4 separate regions of the Homo sapiens genome follow, and all the other regions are linked to region 1. The links are contacts of gene promoters, found by promoter capture Hi-C in blood cells and fetal thymus (Javierre and others, 2016). All regions are on one chromosome and are shown on one strand. The core of a region is centred on a gene start or on the middle of the fragment in contact, and the rest is flanking DNA. Distances in the headings are between cores, read along the strand shown. Region 1 holds the start of GPR82 (G protein-coupled receptor 82). Region 2 has its middle 25 kb from the start of CASK-AS1. Region 3 overlaps CASK (calcium/calmodulin dependent serine protein kinase). Region 4 overlaps CASK (calcium/calmodulin dependent serine protein kinase).

Region 1 (3,286 bases), core at 539-3,038:
GAGGTTTGAGGATCAGTTGAGCCTAGGAGTTCAAGGCTGCAGTGAGCTATGATCATTCTACTGCACTCCAGGCTGGGTAACAGAAAGAGACCCTGTCTCAAAAACAAACAAAAAAAAACTGTAGCTGCTATGCTTGTTGGTTAGAGTGTCCTTGTGTGTAATTTGCTATCTGAGTTTTTCAGAGGATTTTTTTTAAAGGATATGATGTTTTAATCACAACATAAATGCTGGTTTTTACTTTTTTCTGTCTTATATTTAAATCTTTCTCGCTTCAAAGGGTACACATGAAGTGCTGAAGAATCATATACAAACTGCTTTTATTCTTATTTTTCTCCTTATTTCCTCACTTCTTTCAGGTGAGAATAACAAAAGTTACTGGATTCTGGTCAAATAAGAACCATGATCTCTATTCAGAATGTGCCATATTCTCTGTGTTCTTCACCATAGCCTTCTGAGCACCACATTCTCCACTCTTTCATGATCTAGAGCAAGGTTTCTCAATCTTCTTTTTAATCATGTTCTCTTTTGATAAACATAAAAACTGTACCATACACAACCCTTTGAAATTCTTATATCCCCCCAGCCCCTCAGGGCAATTTTACTCTCTACCCCCTTCAGAATTATGGTTTGATTTATTTTCTGCATCTTGGATTACAGAAATTGGGGTTTTTTTTCAAATATGATATTATAATTTTATAATAACTTTTTAAACCAATCCACACCCAAAGTCTTGAAAACTTGAGGACTGTGCAGTGTCTGTGGGTTTAAATAACAAGATTCTTAATTAATGTTTACCACTGTCTTTATAATTTTATTTCTTTGCTATTTTTATTTAGAAAACAGTCCATATGCTTCATTGTAAGTTTGTATCTGAATCTAGTGCAACCTGATGAATTATAATCTGGTTTCAGTTAGTGTAGACCCTGGTATAAATATATAAAACCTAATCTGTAACTTCACCAGTTCAAAAATCAGTCAGACAGTGAAATGAGCCAGTTTATTTAAGAAAAAATTATCTGCTCACAGTAGGTTTTGATTTTACATAAGGATTGGAGCTTCCTTTTATGATGCTGTTAAAGAAAAGCAGTAGCTCCTACCTTGTGCAGATAATGCATAGTATACTAAAAACTGCAAAGGTAATGGTGCTTCTGTATGAATATTAAATGCTTCCAAACAAAAGGGACATAGACTTCTGCAGAGGCTAGCTTTATCAGACAGAAGTTGAGTCTCTGTAGGACTCTCAGTGTAGCAGTCAACAACTAGGTCACCATCTTTACCTTCCCAAACTTGTATCTACTATGTACATCTCCTTCAAAAATAAACTTGGATCATAAAACTACTAGATAACTATTTTCCAGAATTTGGAAAGTACTATTAAGAAATCAAATAAAAATTACATGTTACAGATGCAAAACTGGTCTCCAGAAAATGTCTCTAAGTCTATATTCCCCTCAGGAGAATGTCTATCTCAAGTCACTCATGCATACATTTTGTCTCTGCTAATTTGACAAATGAAAAAAGTTCTACAACTCTTAACTTCAGTTACTAATGACTGTCTACATAGTTAATATGCTGACTGCCTTTCTTAATGATCAGCTTTCAAAATTTAAACCATTAGGTCCTGTTTATTTTTATAGAGTTTAATTTTTAAGCTAAAAATGAATAATAATCACTCTTACCTGTATGAGTAGTTTATGCCAACTAAGGTTATATTGTTCAGGGCAGTGATGCCAAATTTCAGACTTAAAATTCTCTGATCTTCACTCTTCCAATATCTTTAGTCAGTGTGAATAGATTCTTGCATGACACCAACTACAGTGGGAGGAAAAGGGGAAATTAAACAGAATATTGAAGAAATTCAATAGTTATGGTCAATGTGGCAACTGCCTCCTCAAAAAACCCTCATTTCTCTATTTCTGTAGTGGGAGGAAGTGGTGAACAATATACATATTATACTTCCTTATGATTATTTCATGAACTAGTTACACTCCAGTAACCTTTGTTTGCACGATTGACTGAAGTTAAGTTCACAGGTTTAATCCCCCATGGCCAGTTTTATATGACACAGTGATAGAAGGAGCCACTCTGTAGTAACCCAATACAAATATTGGTGCAAACTCGTTTGTAAAATTGTTTGTGGATGGCTTATTTGCAATCCATCTTTATCAAAAATAGAAACAAAACTCAAAGTTTTCTTATAACTTACTAGAATCAAATATTATAGAGCTAAAATAGAACTTCATGATCATCTGTGGACTGAGACCCTTTGTTTTAAAGTTGAAGAAGCTGAGGCCCAGAGGAACTCACTGTAAGCACAGACTGCACCCAGGGTTGGGTCCCAGTTTGGTTACTAATGAGTTAACCCACTCTGTTTCTAATTGCCCTGCACTATCTCCATTTGTCAACATAATACACTGTTTGGGGCATTTCATAATGGATTTGGCAAATCCTGGGAAGTGCCAAGTATGCCTCAGATCAAATGAATAGTTATAAAGAATTGTGAAACCATGACTAGTCTAAAACAATAAAAATTTTAAAAATAAAAAATAGAATTGTGAAACCAATTTTTTTGTTCAGGATTGTCGAATCAGTCTGTGACCTACTAACTAAATGAAAGCTAAGTGTGTACATCTGGGGAGGAAGACTTGCATCAAGCACTCCCTCTCATCCTTGAGTAGTTAAACCAGTGGGAGTCTGAAAAAGAGAACAGAAATCTAATTTCATCAAACCTGAGCATTTTAGTTATCAGTAAATCTTCACTTAAAATTTACAGAAGTACCTTGCCATTTCTCATAAACCCGCAATGCTTACCTTATTTCATGTTTATTTCATAAATTCTCTATGATGTTTGCTAATATTTCTCTCCAAAACAAAAGTGAGAACTGCCTAAAGTGTCCAGATTGTGTTCTGCTGCTGTTCATCTTTGCCTTGCCACCATTTACTTAAGAACAGTGACTCATCCAGGGTTACATGGCCGTTCATTACAGAGTAGTTTGGCTTTTAGAATTCCCATCACTTTTACTTCAGTAATGTATCATGTTCCAGGAAGGAATTACATAGAACAAAAAACAGTTTTAATTAATTTAGAGAAGAACAGAAATGGAATGCTATTTCTAAGTGATTGAAAGATAGTTGTAATATTATCTGTTCAGGCATAAGCGTCTTTGGTCCGAAAAAAGAACGCTCTTGTTTTCCTCCATTGTCTCCAAACTCAGTAAATGATACCATCACTCCTTCAGTTATTCAAGCCAAAAACTTACGAATCATCCTTAATTCCTCTTTCTTT
Region 2 (3,286 bases), core at 310-2,809, 230 kb after region 1:
TCCAGCCTGGGCAACAAGAGCAAAATTCCGTCTCAGAAAAAAAAATAAAAATAAAAATAAAGCAGACAAGAAAAAACAGGAAGAAAAGAAGGAAAGACCAAAAGAAAGAAAGCTAGCTAGCTTCCGAAAGCCCTCTAATGCCAGCAGGAAAAAGTGTTAACTGTTTAAGAGACTAGGCCCTGGTGTCCAACAGACTTAGTTCAAGTCCCAGCCCTACTGAGTCCTTGTTATGCAATCTTCATCAATATGCCTAACCTCTCTGAGTCTCAATGCACTCATCTGTAAAATGGGAATAATAATAATACCTCCCTCATAGTGTCACTATGAAATTTCAACCAGACAGTATCTATAAAGTATTTAGCACAGTGCCAGGGTCATAGTGAGTGCGGGAGACATGTTTCCAATCTTCTTCTGCCTCCACTCCAGCTTCATTTCCCATCATCTCCCACCACGCACCCATGGCCCCAGCCATCTTGCCATTGGCTGCCCTGGGTCAGATTCTTCCAAGCTTCTCTGGCTTTGCTCACGCTGTCCCCTCAGCTGGGAATGCCCTTCCTCCTTGTCCAGCCAGGGACCCTGCTCACCTCAGACCACAGTTCAAGCAACGTTTCCTCTGTGAAGTCTTCTCTGATGCCTCTTCGCACAGGCCCATCCCACCTTCACTGCCCTGCGCTACATCTCCATATTAAGCCCTTGTGTCTTTTTTTTTTTTTTTTTTATGAGACAGGGTCTCCCTCTGTCGCCAGGCTAGAGTGCAGTGGTGCAATCACCAATCACGGCTCACTGCAACCTCCACCTGCCAGGCTCAAGTGATCCTCCCACCTCAGCCTCCCAAGTAGCTGAAACCACAGGCGTGCACCACTACACCTGGCTAATTTTTGTATTTTTTTGTAGAGACAAGGTCTCCCTATGTTGTCCAGGCTGGTCTCGAACTCCTGGGCTCAAGTGATCCACCCATCTCAGCCTCCCAAAGTGCTGGGATTACAAGCATGAGCCATCATGCCCGGGCTAAGTAGTTTTGTTCAAGGTCATTTGATTTGTCATATGTGGATGCTTGATATAGATGTTGAACCACCAGGTTCTAGAGAGAAGGAATCCCAACTCCCATCCCCTGTATGTTTTCAGAAACTGCTCGATGTCTCCCATATGGGACTGCAGGTGGCCATAGGAATGGAAGAAGTAGTGGCTGTGAGAGCAGTTTTCCCTTCGGGGACCTGGGGAGTGTTCAAGCGCCAGGCTGAAAGCAGGCAGGTAACGCCAGGCAAACAGGAGGAATCCCTCAGAGCAGGGAGATGAGAACCCTAAGGGCAGCAAGGACATGTGCTTGCCCTTACCTTCAGTCATGCCAAGATGGGGCAAACCTCCCAAGGGCCTGGGACAGGGCTAAGGGTGAGTTCTCCCAAGGGTGGGGGTTCCTACTTTCAGGCCAGTTGCAACCCAGAGTTGGCTTGATATGAAAGGCACAGTGTGCATGTTTTTGTCGCCATGATCAAAGTCTGTTGGTGGCCGGGCATAGTGACTCACGCCTGTAATCCCAGCACTTTGGGAGGCCAAGGCAGGTGGATCGTCTGAGGCCAGGAGTTCGAGACCAACCTGGCCAACATGGTGAAACCTCGTCTCTACCAAAACTACAGAAATTAGCCAGGCGTGGTGGCGCATGCCTGTAGTCCCAGCTACTCAGGAGGCTGAGGCATAAGGCAGAGGTTGTAGTGAACTGAGATTGTGCCACTGCACTCCAGGCTTGATGACAGAGTGAGACTGTCTCAAAAAAATAAATAAATAAATAAATAAATAAATAAATAAGAAAAAAATCTACTCTCTTAGCAATTTTCAAGTATACAATACATTGTTATTTTGTTTTTGTTTTTGTTTCTCCAGACAGAGTCTCCTTCTTGTTGCCCAGGCTGGAGTACAATGGCACAATCTCAGCTCACCGCAACCTCTGCCTCCCGGGTTCAAGCGATTCTCCTGCCTCAGCCTCCACAGTAGCTGGGATTACAGGCATGCGCCACCATGCAGGGCTAATTTTTTTGTATTTTTAGTAGAGACGGGGTTTCTCCATGTTTGTCAGGCTGGTCTTGAACTCCTGACCTTAGGTGATCCACCCGCCTCGGCCTCCCAAAGTGCTGGGAATACAGGTGTGAGCCACCGCGACCGGCAGTCACCATTTTAGTAATAGATCTCTTGAGGTACAAAATTTGTACCCTTGGACCAACATCTCCCCAACCCCTCCTGCCCAGCCCCTGGTAACCACCACTCCACTCCACTCTTCCAGTTTGTCTCTTTTAGATTCCACATGTAAGTGAGATCATGCAGTGTTTGTCCTTCTATGACTAGTTAATTTCACTTGCATAATGTTCTCCACGATCATCCATGTTGTCACACTCCTGCACTTTATTACGAAAAAGGAATAAACTTCTACCTCGTTTAAGCCACTGGTATTTCAGGGTTTATGTTACTCACAGCTGAGCCCAATCCTACTTGAGACTCAAGCGGTGACTCACATTTCCTTGGCTGGCGTGAAGTGCTTCCCAGCTATTTCTGCTTTTCATTCTTCACAATAGCTCTTTGAGGTAAAAGGAATGTTCCTAATGAGGAAAAGGAAGCTTCAGCACTCCGAGGAGAGGTGAGACAAATGATGCTGGTTTTATCTTTCCAGAAGGCTGTTCCTGCAGCTGCCGCCTAAATCACAAGGAGTAAGCCCTGTGATGTCAGCTATGTGCCAGAGAAACCAGAAAGCACACGCCATTCCTTGTCAGCCATCACCTGAAATTACTAAAGTGCTGTATTGGGTTCGTTCATCTAGAGACCAGCTCCTAATCACAGGATGCTGTTTTACAAGGTCAAAAACATGCCAGGCAAACCCGCAATGCCACCGCTCAGCTTGAGGGAGAAAAGTTTTACATCCCTGGGAGGAGCTTCTGACGATATGATTCACAATGTTCTGTCTTGCTGATGAATGTATTTAATTTTTTTATGTTTTAATTTTTATTTTTTGTGGGTACATAGTAGGTGTATACTTGATGCATGTATTTTAAAACTAGAGAAGAACAAAACTAAAACAATAAAGAAAAAATAAAACTAGAGAAATAAAAAAATCTACAAAAAAAGTTTAAAGAAAAAACTAAAAAAAATAGAGAAAGCAAAAAAAAAATACATAAATGAAAATTACTAGTGGTGAGCAGGGGAAAGCCAAAAAAAATGATAGCAGAGTTTGTTTCTTTTTTTCTTTCTTTCTTTCTTTTTTTTTCTTTTTGAGACGAAGTCTTGCTCTTGTCACCCAGCC
Region 3 (3,286 bases), core at 1-2,500, 190 kb after region 1:
TTCATAAACCACAGAAAAGTATCAGTAATGGAGGCGTTGGGGGTTCACAGTCTAGAATGCCAGCTGACTAATCGTTGGACTCAGTGCACACACCATGTATTTAAGAAGCAGAGATTATTCTCTTAAGAGGTTTATTATATGCAGAAGCTCAGTAAGGTTCCTGATTGTGTCTACGCCTGCCAGAAATCCTACGATCATCTGACCTCAGGATGAGGCTCTGGCACTTTGTTATCACAACAGCCACCTTCCCTCTCTGGGTACAGCTCACGCTGGACCATCAGAGCCTCTACCAGCACATTATGTTAATCTCCAGTGAGAAACTGATCCTGGGGCCTGGGTCTGAAACACAGCACTAGCTTTATGAAAGCAAGCATGAGTGAGCCCAGATGTCAGAGACAGCAGGGATGGAAACCCATGGTGGCTCTCAGCCTCTGCCATTTCCTTACCTGAGCACAATGCCTGACCCTGAGCAAAAACTAGGAGAGAGATAAAGACTTGGAAGAGGACTCAAAAGAGAGCCAGACACAGAGATGATGAAATGGTTTCTAGATATGTCTTGCAGTAGGAATTATTAAACTTGAAAAAGAGAAAGCTGAAGGCTTTACATCAAAAATGCTGACAAGCTGTTTTTTCATCTCTGAGTACAAACCAAGTAGATATGGGAGGCAAAGTATAGTAGGAAGGATTTGGGAGTTGTAGACATCAAGGTGGGTTATAGGAGAGGCTTGTGGGTGCCATGTGACTCCTGGGTCTGCCATTTCTAGGACTGATCTGTACCAAATCTCCTTTAACCCTTAGAAATAGAACCAGTATGCTACCTGCTGAAATAGTAGACCAGCTTCCCTCAAGCAGGCTGTGTTTCATCAGGAGGCTTACCTGGCTATCTTAGGCAGGGCGAATCCCTGTTCAAGGGCCACTGTATGAGACTTGGTCCCCTAACCATCCCTAAAGCAAGGACAGAACCTATATAGCCAGAGTCTGTGTGACCTGGGACCTGACAGCTCAGTTTCTGGGCTCCAGGATCCTAATTCGTGGCCAGTGGGTTCACCCATTTCCGTTTACAACACCTGATGGGGTTCTTGAACTTGGAACTTTGGAAACCACAAAAGGATCTGTTCAAGGGGCTAGGGAGGAAAGCAGCAGTAGGGTGAACACTGCCGTTTACTTAACAATTAACTTGGACCTATATAGAACTAAATATATGATGTGTACCACAGATTGATTTTTGTTTAACTACTAATCCCTCCTTACTAGGGATTGGAAAAATCTTCTGGCCAGGGGTGGCTAGAGGCAAAGTCTCAATCCTGGTCCTGGTCTTCGACATCCTCTCCTTGGGTTCCACACTGGTCTTCACCTGAACGTCGTTTTCTGCTGGTAGTAATGTCTCTAGCAGTATGCTGGCTGCAGGGCTCCTCAGACTCCCTCTGCATTACCTAAGTCCACTTTCGAGGGCTTTCTGCCTTACCTGCCTCCGCTGCTGCCGCCGCCACCGCCACTGCTGCTGCTGCCGCTGCTGCTGCTGCTCCACCCATAGCGTCCAGCTCTCCCTTTCTCCTTGCCCTTGCACAGCCATGCATTGCTCTGCACTGCTGAGTGGGAGACACTTCTCTCAGCCTCCTCAGGACACCCACAGCAGTTACTTTTACCCATTGCACTTGGCCCCAAAGCACCTCCTCACCCCGGCTGGGCACTCTCCTCTGCTCCCCTGAGTGCTGGATGAGCTCACCTGCACTCTTCTCTCCTGCTTCCTGGGTCCCTGCCTCTCAGAACTGTGATCTCTCAGATCCACCTAGCCCTGAGGGCCGGCCATAGGCATCCTGGCTGCCTGAGTCTCTTTGGGCCAGCGGCCCTGGGGATAGGGATTGCCCAGGTCCTGCTCCTCCTGTTGGTCTGGTTGACTACACTGGTCCCAGGCCCTCCTGCGCAGGCCAGCCTCATGCCAGTCCTGGTCTCACAATGACCATTGCATACCACAGTACAGCTGAGAATGCCCGCAGTCTGCACCGACTGGGCTTCACTCTCGGGCTTCTCTGCCCTCAGCCCAGTCTCTCCTCAGCTGGACAAGGCCTTCATCCTGCCTTCAGGATACCCGTGACCATGAACAACTTGCTTTCAGGCAGAGCCTCACTGCTCCAGGGAGGCTCTCTCCTTAGGACATTTTTCTCCATCCCCCTTTCCCACTCCAGCTTCTTAGATGACCCCTCTACTGTATCTTACAGACAATTTAATCCAACAAACTTGTATTAAGCCCTTATTATATGTCAAGCACAGGGTCAGGAGCTAAGAATACAATTCAGAAGACAAGATGGTGAGGATGAAATTCCTTCCTCATTGTACATCCAAAACTGTCCATAACAGAAGGGCCTTGTGGCATTTTTTAGAATCCTCTCACTTCTGCCAAACTACATGTGGACCATAGGAAAACCACCTAACACATGTCCAGCTCTTTTAGTACAGGTCTAATACTTTATGCCATCTTATTTCAGACAACTGAGGCCCAATTGAGCACGTCTAATAATACTATATGATAAGATGTTGTGGTCCAACTTTAAAGCTAGAGGATGATGGTAAAGACATTAAACTAGAAAGAAATTAATAACCTAGCTTCTCATAAAATAGTAATAGATTATGTTCTTATAGTGCTGTATATTTTGCCAGGCGTTATGACTCCTTACCTAATCCTTGTAACCCTATGAGCTGGAGATCAGTATCTAGTTTTGTAGATGGAGAAACCAAGGCTTAACATAATTGTGACTCGATTAAGGCTTTACAGCCAATTGAAAGTGAGGTGTGAAGTTGAACTGTGTTGATTTTTAAATTTTTATTCTTTTACAGTAAATCCCCACTTCCTTTCACTGTACCACCCTAGAAGAGGTAACCCTGGGAATCCTTAAGATGGTTCACCTTATCCATAGTAGTACAATGTAAAGCCTCATTTTTTCTTAACATTCAGAAAAATCTGTAATTCAGTCAAACCTAAGAAAAGCTGTAGAATTTATTTCTCATGAAAATAAAGCTATGGCTCAGAAAATAATCTGTGCCCCTAAAGCTGAAACTGTAATAGCCCCAGTGTGTAATCAGAGCTTAATGTGATGGTTTTAGATTTTAACTTTATTCTGATGTATCCATTTGTAGCATGAAAAAGTTAATAGTAGCAGAATATTTGTAGTTTTGCTTTTGCCCACAGCGGAAGAGGTCATCATCAAGAGGCAGCATACAGTCTTGTTAGGAATCCATACTTTAAAACAAGAGCCAGGTTCTGAACCAGAGACTATTTTGTGAAATC
Region 4 (3,286 bases), core at 230-2,729, 150 kb after region 1:
ATTTTTGAAGTCCCTACTAAGTGCAAATCACTCTTATTAGATGCCAGTGATCTATTGTCAGATAAGACACTGCCCCTTACTAGAGCTCACGTTCCACAGGGCTGGCTACATTAAACAAGTAAATTTGTAGCTTAGCACGGTTTACTTAACAAGCCCAGTTATGACAGAGCTGGAGAGGAGAGAAAGCTGTGTTGGAGAGGCAGGAAGGTGTGATGTTCAGCCAGGCAAAGCAGGCAAGAAGGTAGAAGGGACCACAAGAAGGAGGCCTCAGAGTGTCTTGGGATCATTAAGTTCTCAAGCAGTCCAGTGACAGCTGCTTGATTGTTTGTGTGAAGACTCACTACATAGAAACATAGACTGAATTGGCCCGGTGCAGTGGCTCACACCTGTAATCCCAGCACTTTGGGAGGACGAGGCGGGTGGATCACGAGGTCAGGAGTTCGAGACCAGCGTGGCCAATATGGTGAAACCCCATCTCTACTAAAAATACAAAAATTAGCCAGGTGTGGTGGTGGGTGCCTGTAATCCTAGCTACTCAGGAGGCTGAGGCAGAAGAATCGCTTGAACCCGGGAGGCGGAGGTTGCAGTGAGCCGAGATCGCGCCACTGCACTCCAGCCTGGGCAGCAGAGTGAGACTCCGTTTCAAAAAAAAAAGAAAAGAAAAGAAAAGAAAAAAGAAACATAGACTGAATAAAAGCATAAAACTACATCCCTGAGTTACTTTTTCAGAAAGCGTAAAATGGTCTTGAGTCTCCCCTAAAAGTCTCCTTCCAAAAGCTTTTCTGTCTTCGATGATCCTAGTGAAGATGTATATTTCTTCTCCTTTTGATGGGTTTCCATGAAAACAGGAATTATTTTATGTGAAATATAAAATATATATTTTCAATAATAGAGTGTCAATCTCTAATGCATTTAATACAACTTTATTTGCTTTCTTAGTTGTCTTATTCAAAGCATTATGTTACTGTGCAGGATATTCCTATATGATCTGTTTTGTTTTTCAGACCCTCTGCAATGTGTCCATTCCTCAAGGGTGACATACTCCTGTTACACACCTCTGTTTTCCCATTTGTAGCATCATACTCATAATTTTTTTTTTTATTGATTGGAATTCCCATAGTTGCAAGTGACAAAAATCAAGCTTGAACTAGCTTACAAAATAGAGGAAAGGCTTATATAAACAGGGAAAGGCCAGGAGTATAACTTTCCTAATATCTCCCCTCAAGCTGGTAGGTTCAGGAGTAGGCACCTAACCCAAGCTATGCCAATGCCTTCCCTAGAATTTGTGAACTTGGGAACAGAGAGAAAGTGAATCAGTTCCTCTCTACAGAGAAATGTTTGGGACCTACAGAATAATAAATGTTAACTACAGTTGGTTTGAGGTGAACTTCTCCTGGCCATGGGAGACCCTTTTTGTCTCATTTGCTACTGTACCTAGCAGAGTGCCTGCCTCATAGTAAATTCACGTTAATGTTAGTTGAATGAATACATACATCTATTAGTTTCAAGGGTGGAAGCTGTATTGTACTATCATTTCCCTTATGAAATTAGATTTGACTTACACACTAATTTACAGCATTTTTCCAGGAACACTTTTCTTAGTAACCATACAAGCTGATTGAATGTACAAGTTGGAAATGAAACTTGAATATTACAATTGAATCTTAGGACTGGAAACATTTTGATAAACCAGTTTTTCACATTGCTCACCTACCACTTCTGAAAACTGCAAAATAGGAACAATGCAAAGTTATAGTTTGTGGAGTGGTACAAATTAAGTTTAGAGTATAAAGTCTCAGATATTTTTATCAAGCTTTCTGACAGTGTTATTCTCTAGTGAAAAATAAAAGACACAGTCCCTACCCTTAACTGTCTCAAATTCAAGGCCACTTTCCAGCAAGGGAGCCTGTTAAAAAGTACAGATTTCCGGGCTCCATTCGAGGCCTCCTGAGCTTAAATCTAAAGAGTGGGTTTAAGAGTCAGCATTATTTAAAATTTCCCTGTGTGATTCTTAGGATTAACCAGATCTAGTGCAAAAAATATGTTTATGAATGCTTGTTTTTTTTAATAGTGGATAATCAGAAAACAAAAAGTAATCCACTCTGTAGAATAGTATTCTGGCATTAAATGTGACTATAGAACTTTCATTTCTGTCCAAGATAGAGTAACTGGGACCAGATTTATCCTCTCATTTGAAACAACCCAACATATAAAAAACAAAATATCATGAAAGAACAGTTTTCAAGACATTAGACATCAGGCAACTAAGGACAGTGATCTCTTGTGAGACAGGAAACAAGGTGACCCATATGAATGCCCCACCATGCTGCCTTGAGAGAGTTTCCAGGCCACAGCACAGGGAGGGGAACTAAGGCAGAGTAGGCAGACTCCCTAAATTGAGGGGACAGAGCTGAGAGTCTGGGGTGACCAAAGCAACTAGAGTTCATAGGACAGAGTACTGAAGAGGAGAGAGCTGCACACAGACAGAACCTCAGATCTGCAGAGGATCTCCCTCAAGTATTCAGCAGAGTATCGATCAGTGCATGTCTAATAGGAAATTCCCCAACACTGAGAAACTCCCCAACACTCTCCACTTTGGATGGAAAAAAAAACCATCCAAAAGGATTGGAAGGAACAGCGCCTGCACTACCTGTTCCCACCAGTCAGACTAGAAAAATTTCTAATTCATGGCTCATTGTGTAGAGCGCTCAGGGAAGTCTTATCTCTGTAATGAGAAGTAATTAGCCCCAAACTGACAACTGCTCCAGACCTGCCTAATGGATCATGAACGCAAGACCCAAAGGATCAAACTATGTCCGAGTAACTGATCTAAGTCTCAGAACAAAACATAAGAATATTTTTAGGAATACAAAAACATCAACTATGCAACAAATTCACAATGTCTGACATCTAATCAAAGATTACTAGGCATGTAAAAAGACCAGAAAGTGTGACCTATAATATGGAGAATAATCAATCAAAAATGACATAGAACTGACAGATAATAGAATTAGCAGGAAAATACACTATGGGATTAATGGCAGATTAGACATTTCAGAAGAGATTAGTGAACTTGAAGACAGAGCAATAAAAACTATCAAAAATGAAACACAGCAAGAAAAAGAATTTTTAAAGATGAAAAGAGCATCACTGAGCCGTGGGACAACTTCAGTCAGCCTAATACATGGTTAATTGGAGTTCATGAAGAAGAGAGGAAAAGAAAGAAGAAATGTTTGAAGAAATAACGCCTGAAAACATTCCAAACTTGATGAAAACTATAAACCCA

Evidence for each region. The method cuts DNA at HindIII sites, captures the fragments that hold promoters and counts their contacts. A CHiCAGO score of 5 or more calls a contact.
Region 2: a fragment that was not itself captured here is called in contact with the fragment with the promoter of GPR82 in region 1 in 1 of 17 cell types (M2 macrophages); the score reaches 6.5 in M2 macrophages.
Region 3: a contact is called between a fragment that was not itself captured here and the fragment with the promoter of GPR82 in region 1, in 2 of 17 cell types (neutrophils and M2 macrophages). The highest score is 5.7, in neutrophils.
Region 4: a fragment that was not itself captured here is called in contact with the fragment with the promoter of GPR82 in region 1 in 1 of 17 cell types (M2 macrophages); the score reaches 6.3 in M2 macrophages.

Annotation. Positions count from the first base shown.
Region 1 is chrX:41,722,683-41,725,968 of GRCh38, reverse strand. GPR82 (G protein-coupled receptor 82) reads right to left here and starts at 1,788. Exons shown (of 3, transcript NM_080817.5): 1 at 1,680-1,788. The region is part of intron 5 of CASK (calcium/calmodulin dependent serine protein kinase); the gene reads left to right. The HindIII fragment of the contact is 20,979 bases long and covers 1-3,286 here.
Region 2 is chrX:41,491,037-41,494,322 of GRCh38, reverse strand. No RefSeq gene overlaps it. Among named protein-coding and RNA genes, the nearest start is that of CASK-AS1, 25 kb to the left of the region's middle. The HindIII fragment of the contact is 2,098 bases long and covers 511-2,608 here.
Region 3 is chrX:41,527,617-41,530,902 of GRCh38, reverse strand. The region is part of intron 25 of CASK (calcium/calmodulin dependent serine protein kinase); the gene reads left to right. Among named protein-coding and RNA genes, the nearest start is that of CASK-AS1, 11 kb to the right of the region's middle. The HindIII fragment of the contact is 7,338 bases long and covers 1-3,286 here.
Region 4 is chrX:41,573,351-41,576,636 of GRCh38, reverse strand. The region is part of intron 15 of CASK (calcium/calmodulin dependent serine protein kinase); the gene reads left to right. Among named protein-coding and RNA genes, the nearest start is that of CASK-AS1, 57 kb to the right of the region's middle. The HindIII fragment of the contact is 672 bases long and covers 1,144-1,815 here.